2 separate regions of the Homo sapiens genome follow, and region 2 is linked to region 1. The links are contacts of gene promoters, found by promoter capture Hi-C in blood cells and fetal thymus (Javierre and others, 2016). All regions are on one chromosome and are shown on one strand. The core of a region is centred on a gene start or on the middle of the fragment in contact, and the rest is flanking DNA. Distances in the headings are between cores, read along the strand shown. Region 1 holds the start of PLD1 (phospholipase D1). Region 2 overlaps FNDC3B (fibronectin type III domain containing 3B).

What was found. The method cuts DNA at HindIII sites, captures the fragments that hold promoters and counts their contacts. A CHiCAGO score of 5 or more calls a contact.
Region 2: a contact is called between a fragment that was not itself captured here and the fragment with the promoter of PLD1 in region 1, in 1 of 17 cell types (neutrophils). The highest score is 7.6, in neutrophils.

The regions. Positions count from the first base shown.
Region 1 is chr3:171,807,874-171,812,558 of GRCh38, reverse strand. PLD1 (phospholipase D1) reads left to right here and starts at 2,076. Exons shown (of 27, transcript NM_002662.5): 1 at 2,076-2,160. The HindIII fragment of the contact is 4,859 bases long and covers 783-4,685 here.
Region 2 is chr3:172,323,094-172,327,778 of GRCh38, reverse strand. The region is part of intron 11 of FNDC3B (fibronectin type III domain containing 3B); the gene reads right to left. Among named protein-coding and RNA genes, the nearest start is that of GHSR, 120 kb to the left of the region's middle. The HindIII fragment of the contact is 8,157 bases long and covers 1-4,685 here.

The DNA.
Region 1 (4,685 bases), core at 827-3,326:
ATTGAGATGAATGTATAGCATGATTACTTAGTCACTGTTTCTTGACATCTTTGAAGATATGAAAGAGTTGGAAAGAAAAATCACAAAATCTCTCAGGAAAATAAAATAATTACATACAAAATCATACTACTTCTAAAATTCATGTTTGGGAGTCCATAAGCTTCAGTTCATCTCTAAACAACATATGGCATTTCCTATTTTATTCCTCTATCCCAGGGAGGCAGAAATTCAGTTATTGTAAGGGCACTTAGATAATTTTCTTTCTTTCTTTCTTTCTTTTTTTTTTTTGAGACAGAGTCTTGCTGTGTCACCAGGCTGGAATGCAGTGGTGCAATCTCAACTCACAGCAACCTCCTCCTCCCAGGTTCAAATAATCCTCCTGCCTCAGCCTCCCGAATAGCTTCGATTACAGGAACCTGCCTCCACCTCCGGCTAATTTTTGTATTTTTAGTAGAGCCGGGGTTTCGCCATGTGGCCCAGACTGGTCTTGAGCTCCTGACCTCAGGTAATCAACGCGCTTCGGCCTCCCAAAGTGTTGGGATTACAGGTGTGAGCCACTGCGCTTGGCCTTGATAATTTTATTTCTAATTAGATTTAGTAGAAAGACCTATTGTTGGAGGCAAGTGCCAAATGTTTTCATAGTGACACTTAAGAATTTGGGATGCAATTTTATAGACTGCTGCTTCTCAACCAAAAGCATTATAATTTCTAAAGACAAGCTTGTAAGAATGCAGTTACGTGTGTGCACAAGACTTATCAGACCATCTGTGACTAATAAAGCTTGAGAAAGAGGGGAGGAGAGAGGGTATTCTGCCTTCCAGTAACATGCTTGTCTGAAACTTACTAAACTCCTCTTAGGCAATACTCTGCTCAGAGAGTCATGTGTTTAATTGTAAAAATCTGTCAGTATCATAGGATTCAAAAGACATCAATCATTTATGTCAACAAGGAAAGAGTGAGGGCTGTGTGACTCTTCTATCATTAGGAAAAGATGTGCTCAAGAGACAAAAATGTGGTCTAAGGAGGGCTGAGCAACTGTAGGTTACAGGAAAACTGAGTTCCAGACTATAATTTGGCCCCCCTCCCCTAATTTGGACTGGTATATTATATTTTTCATTTCATGCAATGCCATGTGTGCAGTAAGACATTATGTAACTTGGTCAGTCGCAGTTGTGTAATATCCACTAAATGCTTTAAAGTGGCTGACGTTATTAGCAGTTTGGTGCATGGGGAGGCCATTGCTTCCCCTGGCTTTGGCGGGATGCAATATCGTGTAATGAGGTTGGAACTGGCCTATATTCAAAATTACATTCCCAAAGGGCTGCTATTCAAGCCACATGACAACTGGTTCTCTTTTTCTTAAGACTTTATTCTAAGTGGACTGAAAACAGCAAAATTGCCGTGTTTGAACGGTTCCATAGGTGGAATGGGTCTTTTCCCTGTTTTGCTCCCAATTTATTATTTTATGCTAAGATTTCTGAATTATAACCAGTTTTAGAGACATCGGGACACAAATTCCCGTCCCCCTCCATCTAAGCTGTGTGACCTCGGGCTGGTTCTGAGCCTTCATTTCCTTACCTGTAAATTGGCGATAACACTTCCCTAAGGAGGTGCAAGAAGGCTTATAAAGACTCCAGCAAAGCTCCAGTCTCTTAATTATGTCACCTCAGGCAAGTTATTTAGCCGTTTGATTTGCTGATTCCTTACTTATAAGTTGGACCAGTTGTGGCTACTATCCGCAGTAGTCGAAGAATAGATATCATAGGCAAAGCTCCGGGAAAGGTGGCTGGTCCTTGGCGGCTCGAGAGGACCTGATAATGGTCCTAATAGCGAGCATTCCCTAGGGTGATGCGGTCGAGTTATGAAACTTTGGGAAAAGAGAACAAGGAACGCGGGCGATCAGAGGCCCAGTCGCGAGACCTGCCCCGCTGGGGCCTCCAGCCGGCACCGCGACGCCCCGGGACCTGGCACCGCCTCGCTCCACCCCTGCGAATCCGGGGCGAATCCGGGCGGAGAGTTCCTGCCGGCCGCGCAGCGCAGAGCCCCCTCCGGCCCGCCCTCTCTCCCTCCCTCCCGCTGAGCTCCAGCTGTGCCAGAGGCACCCGAGCCCTGAGAGTCCGCCGCCAACGCGCAGGTGCTAGCGGCCCCTTCGCCCTGCAGGTAGGAGCCGCGCCGAGACCCGGATCACCGGGCGCCCGTGGGAGCCGGGTTTCCACTGCCCTCGCCCTCCGTCCCTCCTCCGCCCAACCTGGGCAGCTGGCCGCTCCCCGCCCAACTTGGACGGGATTTCAGCGAGTGAGTCGGCGGCGGACTCCCTAGCGATCCCCAAGGGCCTCCCTCGCACGCCTTCGGGTGGAATTCCTGCAGGGTGAAAGCTGACAACTCTGGCACGCACTTTTGCCGCGCGGGCGGCTGCCTGGAGCGCAGAGCCGCGCAGGCTCAGGCTGAAGCCCAGGCGTCCTCTGCAGGATGCACCGCCTCGCCGCCACAGGGCTTCGGGTGCAGTGTGTGTGGTGTCCCCAGGTCATCCGGGCGCCCTTGGTTCGGGTGCGCGGTGGCATGACTGGGCTGGTGGGGGCGATGGGACCGGCATCCCGTACCAACCAGGAAGTGCCGCGTCCCAAGGCTTCGAGCCCAGCCCGCAGAGCACGGTCCTGGGGGTGTGATCACAGCTGCTGACCGCGGCTCCCGCCGTGTGATGTGACCACTCGGAGGTGGGGCGAGGGGGCCGGGGGCCAGCAGCAGGGAGTGTGTAAAAGGTCTTCTTCCTCACAATACGATTGAAGGTGTTTGGGACGTAGGGCTCAGATCCAGGAGTGCCGTCCTCCAAGCCTTCCATAGGATTTTGTGACGCCCTTGAGAACCGCCCTTGTAGACTCAGTCCTGAACTACCGCCACGCCTGTATTTGCTCCTCCTCATCTCGGATTATTGCTTTCTTTACTTCCTCTGTGAAGCACTAAATACTAGTAGCTTTTTAAGAACAGACCACAACAGTTTCTTCGTTTGACCATTACTAAGTCTGCCTCCAAAATGGGGAGTTCCGTTAACTTTATCAGCCAGCCCTGCCAATTTTAGTTAAGATAAGCCTTCGTGGGCCTCCAAAGGCCTCTGAGAGACTAGGTACCCAGAGACCTCTGAGGTATGTTAAATGGTTTAGTTCGTGGTGGTGCAATGAAAACTTAAAGAAGGAAAGGAATCTGCAATTTGAACTGTTAACAGACCCCACATTTACACACTGCCTATTTGAATAAGAATCTCTTTCAGTATTAAATGTTTTGTGACACACAAATGAATTTGTACACAGTCTTTTAGCTTGAATTTGTAGACAGCCTTTAAATGTTGTTTGGGGATCTTTGGACTAATTGTATAAGCGCTCAGTCTGGCTTCTCAAGAACCAGTACAGTTAACAATCCATATAAAAAGTTGGAGTGCTGCCTGGGCGCGGTGACTCACGCCTGTAATCCCAGCACTTTGGGAGGCTGAGGCGGGCAGATCACCTGAGGTCAGGAGTTTGAGACCAGCCTGGCCAACATGGTGAAACCCCGCCTCTACTAAAAATACAAAAATTAGCCAGGCGTGGTGGCACACGCCTGTAATCCCAGCCACTCGGGAGGCTGAGGCAGGAGAATCGCTTGAACCCGGGAGGCGGAGGTTGCAGTGAGCCGAGATGGAGCCATTGCACGCCAGCCTGGGCGACAGGGCAAGAATCTGTCTCAAAAAAAAAAAAAAAAAAAAAAAAAAATTGAATGCTAAGGCTTTGAGGAAAAAGTGTCTTTACAATGTTTGTCCCTGATGACAGAATAATTATGAACTATAGTAAGCGCTGTACAATGCTCATTTAGGTTTGTAGACTTACTTATAACCAGGTAGTGGGGAACCCGGCTTCTTGGAAGTTGTATGTTTACTTAGTGTTTCTTAATTAAAATTACAAATTTTATTTACCTTTAACTCTTATAGGTAACTTTTATTTTTGTTACAAAGGAAAAGTAGGACTGTCATTATTATTATTATTATTATTTTTTGAGACGGAGTCTCGCTCTGTCGCCCAGGCTGGAGTGCAGTGGCGCGATCTCGGCTCACTGCAAGCTCCACCTCCCGGGTTCACGCCATTCTCCTGCCTCAGCCTCCTGAGTAGCTGGGAAAACAGGCGCCTGCTGCCACGCCCGGTTGATTTTTTGTATTTTTAGTAGAGACGGGGTTTCACCGTGTTAGCCAGGATGGTCTCGATTTCCTGACCTCGTGATCCGCCCGCCTCGGCCTCCCAAAGTGCTGGGATTACAGGCGTGAGCCACTGCACCCGACCCTATTTTTTTTTTTTAATAATTTGAAATTTTATTTTAGATACAGGGGGTACATGTGCAGGTTTGTTACATGGACATACAGCATGCAGCTGAGGTTGGGGGTACAACTGGTCCCGTCACCCAGGTGGTGAGCATAGTACCTGATAATTTTTTAACTTTTGCTCTCCTTCCTCCCTCCCACGTCTAGTAGTTCCCAGTGTCTATTGTTGCCGTCTCTATATCCATAAGTACCCAATGTTTACCTTCCACTTATTAGTGAAAACATGCAATGTTTGATTTTCTGTTCCTGCATTAATTTGCTTAGGATAATGACCTCCATCCGCATCCATGTTTCTACAAAGGACACGATTGTGTTACTTTTTATGGCTGCATGGTATTCTATG
Region 2 (4,685 bases), core at 1,593-4,092, 510 kb before region 1:
TTTTAATTAAAAATAAAATGAACACACCACTAGCCTGACTGTTGCTACGGTGAGCACATTAAAAACAACCACACTGGCCGGGCGCGGTGGCTCACGCCTGTAATCCCAGCACTTTGGGAGGTTGAGGCGGGCAGATCACGAGGTCAGGAGATCCAGACCATCCTGGCTAACACAGTGAAACCACATCTGTACTAAAAATACAAAAACAAAATTAGCCAGGCTTGGTGGCGGGTGCTGGTAGTCCCAGCTACTCAGGGGGCTGAGGAGGGAGAATGGCGTGAACCTGGGAGACGGAGCTCGCAGTGAGCCGAGATCGCGCCACTGCACTCCAGTGTGGGCGACAGAGTGAGATTCCGTCCTCCTGCCCCGCCCCGCCCCCCAAAAAAATCACACCACATTCATCCTCCTCAAAGGAACCCCTTCCCCACCCACCTCCTAGAGCCAGGAAGCACCTTTCCCAATGGAAGGGAGTGAGAGTTCTAACAGTCTTTAAGATTGAAAGTTCATTTTATCAAGGGTTCAAGGTGCATTCAGATGCAACTTGGTGGCCGAGTTGGGGGTGTGCAGCAAGTAAAGCCTGACATTTCTCAGTTGCTCCTTGAGTGAACTCACTATGTGGCTGGCATGTCACACACTATGCTTACTTCAACCTTGAGTGTTGAGGTTGAGGAAGATGATTTATTCAAATGCATACACTTGAATAATTACACCCAGCATCCGATCACACTCTATGGGAGCCCTGGTATGTGTCGTATCCATTTCAGGCTGTGGCATGATCTACCTTCTTTCCTCCTCTATTTCTGAACTCAGAGTAAGCAGTGCAAGAAAGGCCCATCCTGCCATGGCGGAAGCTCTCATCCCTTCCAAACCCCGTGTTGGCTCCCCTTTAATGCCTCATTTTTCCTATTTCTTTATTTGGTCTCCTTTCCCCTTTTCTTGTGCTTAGAACTGTAGCCAGTAAAAAAAAAGTCAGTGTTTCTTACTAGGTTAATTTGCTTTAATACAGTAGAAACCAGACTGTTTGTGGCTCAAACGAGAAAAAGACTGGGGAGGGTTCGAAGGGGAGAAATGACTTTTAAGAGAGCCAGAGCACTCACGCTCACTAAAGAATTAGGAGAAGGGGAACTGTGTGACCTTCAAGACATCTTCCTATATTGCTAACATTTAAAAAAATTCTACTTGTGAAAGAAGTAAAAATGGCGCCAGTGCACTCCAGCCTGGGCGACAGAACAAGACTCCATCTCAAAAACAAACAAACAAAACATAAATCTTGGAGTCAGGACCAATTGTTAAAATCAGGAACAACTGCTATATAAACTACAACCCATATAGACAAAGCATGCCGAATTTTCTATCATAACAACTTCCAGGATGTACTACTATGTGCATAAACTTAGGGACACCTAGAAAGATCCAGAGTTGTTAAAACCCTGGAATTCAGTTTTGGAAGCATTGTCTGTAGAGTCTGTAGAGGTAAGAATACAAATATTTGACAGTTAAAAGAATTAAGGCTTATTGATGAATTTTTAGAAGTCATTGAGAATAAAACAAAAACAAGGGAAAGTAGGTTAAAATATTTCAGACATGAGAGAAGTTTTGAATAAAAGAACATATTCATGTATAACATGAAGTTTAATACAAAAGGCATATCTGGGCGGGGTGTGATGGCTCACGCCTGTAATCCCAACACTTTGGGAGGCTGAGGGAGGTGGATCACTTGAGGTCAGGAGTTCGAAACCAGCCTGGCCAACATGGTGAAACACCGTCTCTACTAAAAATACAAAGACATTACCCAGGCGTGGTGGTAGACGCCTGTAATCCCAGCTACTTGGGAGGCTGAGGCAGGAGAATTGCTTGAACCCGGGAGGCAGAGGTTGCAGTGAGTCGAGATCACGCCACTGCACTCCAGCCTGGGTGACAGAACGAGACTCTGTCTCTAATATAAAATAAAATAAAATGCATATCTGGAAAGAAAAAAATTAATGTTCACAAAAGTCACTGCAGTACAAAAAGTGATCTGCAGCTGAGAAGTTAACAAGTGAACTGGAGAAGGCCACTGGCTCCAGTGATCCGATGCCAGCGTGCTGGTCTGTCTACTGCGCCAGGCTCTCCGACGGCTCTGGAGCTTAAGCATTAGAGTAGAGTAAGTCCGTGTTCAAAGGCATAGAAGATTTGGAGAATCTGTTCATAAAACAAGATGGGTCCCAGGTTGCAAATAGCATTTATAAACAAAACATTTTCCTGTTCTTGTTGACAGAAATGGAGTTAAAAAAGAAAAGAGCTAATGCTTTAGAGGACTGAAAGATTCATACGAACTGACAGGAGTGATAAAGTGAATGTTTATCATTGTTTATCAGAAGTTAAATATATCCAAATCATTCCTGTCAGTGAAGTTTTAGAGATGGTAAATGACAACTTTCATATTTTATATGCTGTGTGGCTCCCAGAGATTTTGAGAGATTATAATCTATGGCACGTTCCCGCCTTTAAAAAATCTAATTTAGACTACACAGGATTACTGAGATACGCTGACTTGACTTCGGAAACTTAGTTGTTAATAATTTAAATTCAGCCTTGTTCAAAGTTCCCTACTAAAATATGGCTGCAGTAGAAATGGGTAACATCCTGACACTTTTCAGACCTGTTGTCATCAATGATCTGGTCACACACAGGCAGCAGGGACAGCCATGACTTAGGCCTAATCCTGGCCAGCTACGGCTGCTAGGCCACTTGTGGTGTGTCACACAGAGGAGAGTAAGAGCTTTCAAAGGGGCTGCCAGGGCCTGGGAGTCAGCTGGTCCGCAGGGCTGAGGGAAGAGACTCCTAGCTGCACTCCGCTTCTCTGCGCGTTGGTGGGTCAGGTTCGCAGCACATGAGCAGTCAGGATCAGAACCTCTAAGGTGACACTGGAGTCCCTGTTCTCAGCGGGGTATGGAAAAGATACTTCACCTGAATTAGAGAAACTGGTCAGAGTGAACACCATTGATCATTCTGGAACAGACCTAGCCACTGGGCTACTGACCTCACTGGACATGAACCAATATAACCCCAGCCAGTTCTGGCCTAACTTTCTACTGCCAGTGTCTGTGAGCCAAAAAAAGGGCAGATTTTCAGGGTGCACTGGCTTGTTTCCATTTTGCAACCTTGGGCATGCCCAAATGCTTGTTTCTGCAGCTCAGACCAAGTTCATTCAAGGGCAAGGTTAATCTTTCTTTACTACAATGTGAAGAAATCTTGGAGTACAAACCAACTGTGTGCAGACAAACCTTGAGGTGCTCAATCTGGCGCAGGATGACGCATTGCAAACGTGGGTTGTTTCCTTTCCCAAGCTGAGTGTTCCTCTTCGCACTCAACCTAATTCACAGTTGTTGCTTATCTATCTTCATTCCACACCCAGACCTAGCCTGAGAGCACCAATTCATCACCCTGGGGTAATGTTTTCCAACCAGGGACGAGGGTGTTTTGTCTACCACTTCTGGTCAAAACTGCTCTCCAGGAAAGGACTTGGCTCGCCAGTAAGTCGACTCATATTCACAGCATGCATCAGATCAGCCCTTCCCAAGCCTGGGAAGGGAGAAAGGGCTTTGCCTCTTTCTCCTTTCCAATCATCAAACAAAAATACATTGGGTATTATCCACATTCTAGACACCACTGGATCATCTTACTCTATGTTCCGTCCAGTGTGCCTTGCGCAAACCTGTCCCCTGATGTCATCATAACTCTTACCACAGAGTTCACCTGCCCTAAGCTGGACACCTCATTTATCTGAACCTGGGTAAGTGCCTCTTTCATTTCAAGATTCACATACTAAAGGAAGTCATCACCTTTGGGGGGAAGTCCCAGCCTAGTAACGCTTAGAATACTACATACTCTATGAGCACCTGCCTCCCCTTTGCTTCATCCTCATCCTCACTCACTTTTTAGAAGGGTCATGCATTTTTGGTTTCAAGTCCTAATTAATAATGGGAGTCTAGATATTGTTCTTGTTCCTACAGGGTCCTGCTAAATTCTGAAGAATGGCAATAACCTCCAACTTTTTGCCAGACTATGAAAGGCCCCAAACACAGAAAAAAAGGGGCAAGAGAAGGGAGCTTGGAGAGTATATAAAAAGCACTATGTGGCTACATAGCAGAGAATGATCAACCCCTGAAAACATCTCCAAGATGTGATTATAATCTCCAGGACAAAGACTTTTTCTTTTTCCCCCCACAAGGGAGAAATACTGTTTCCAAATATTCTACTTTTTGTGTGTGTGTGTGAGAGACAAGGTGTCTCACTCTGTTGTTCAGGCTAGAGAGCAGTGGTACAAACAGACCATAGCTCACTGTAGCCTCAAACTGCTGGACTCAAGGGATTCTCCTTCTCAGCCTCCTGAGTAGCTAAGATTATAGGCATGCACCACCACACCTGGCTAAATTTTCAATTTTTTTCTTTTTGGTAGAGATGGGCTGATCTCGAACCCCTGGCCTCAAGCTATCCTTCCACCTGAACTAGGCTTCCCAAAGTGCTGGGATCATAGGTGTGAGCTACCATGTCCAGCTCTGCCATTCTCCAAAATGAAATTTGGAGATAAATTATAAATATAAAATATTTTGAATATTTTAAGGAACATCTTTATTTTTTCTTTTACCCCCTTACTACCTACTTGAATATTTTTCAATTTCTTTCAAATTTGTAGTTAAAAA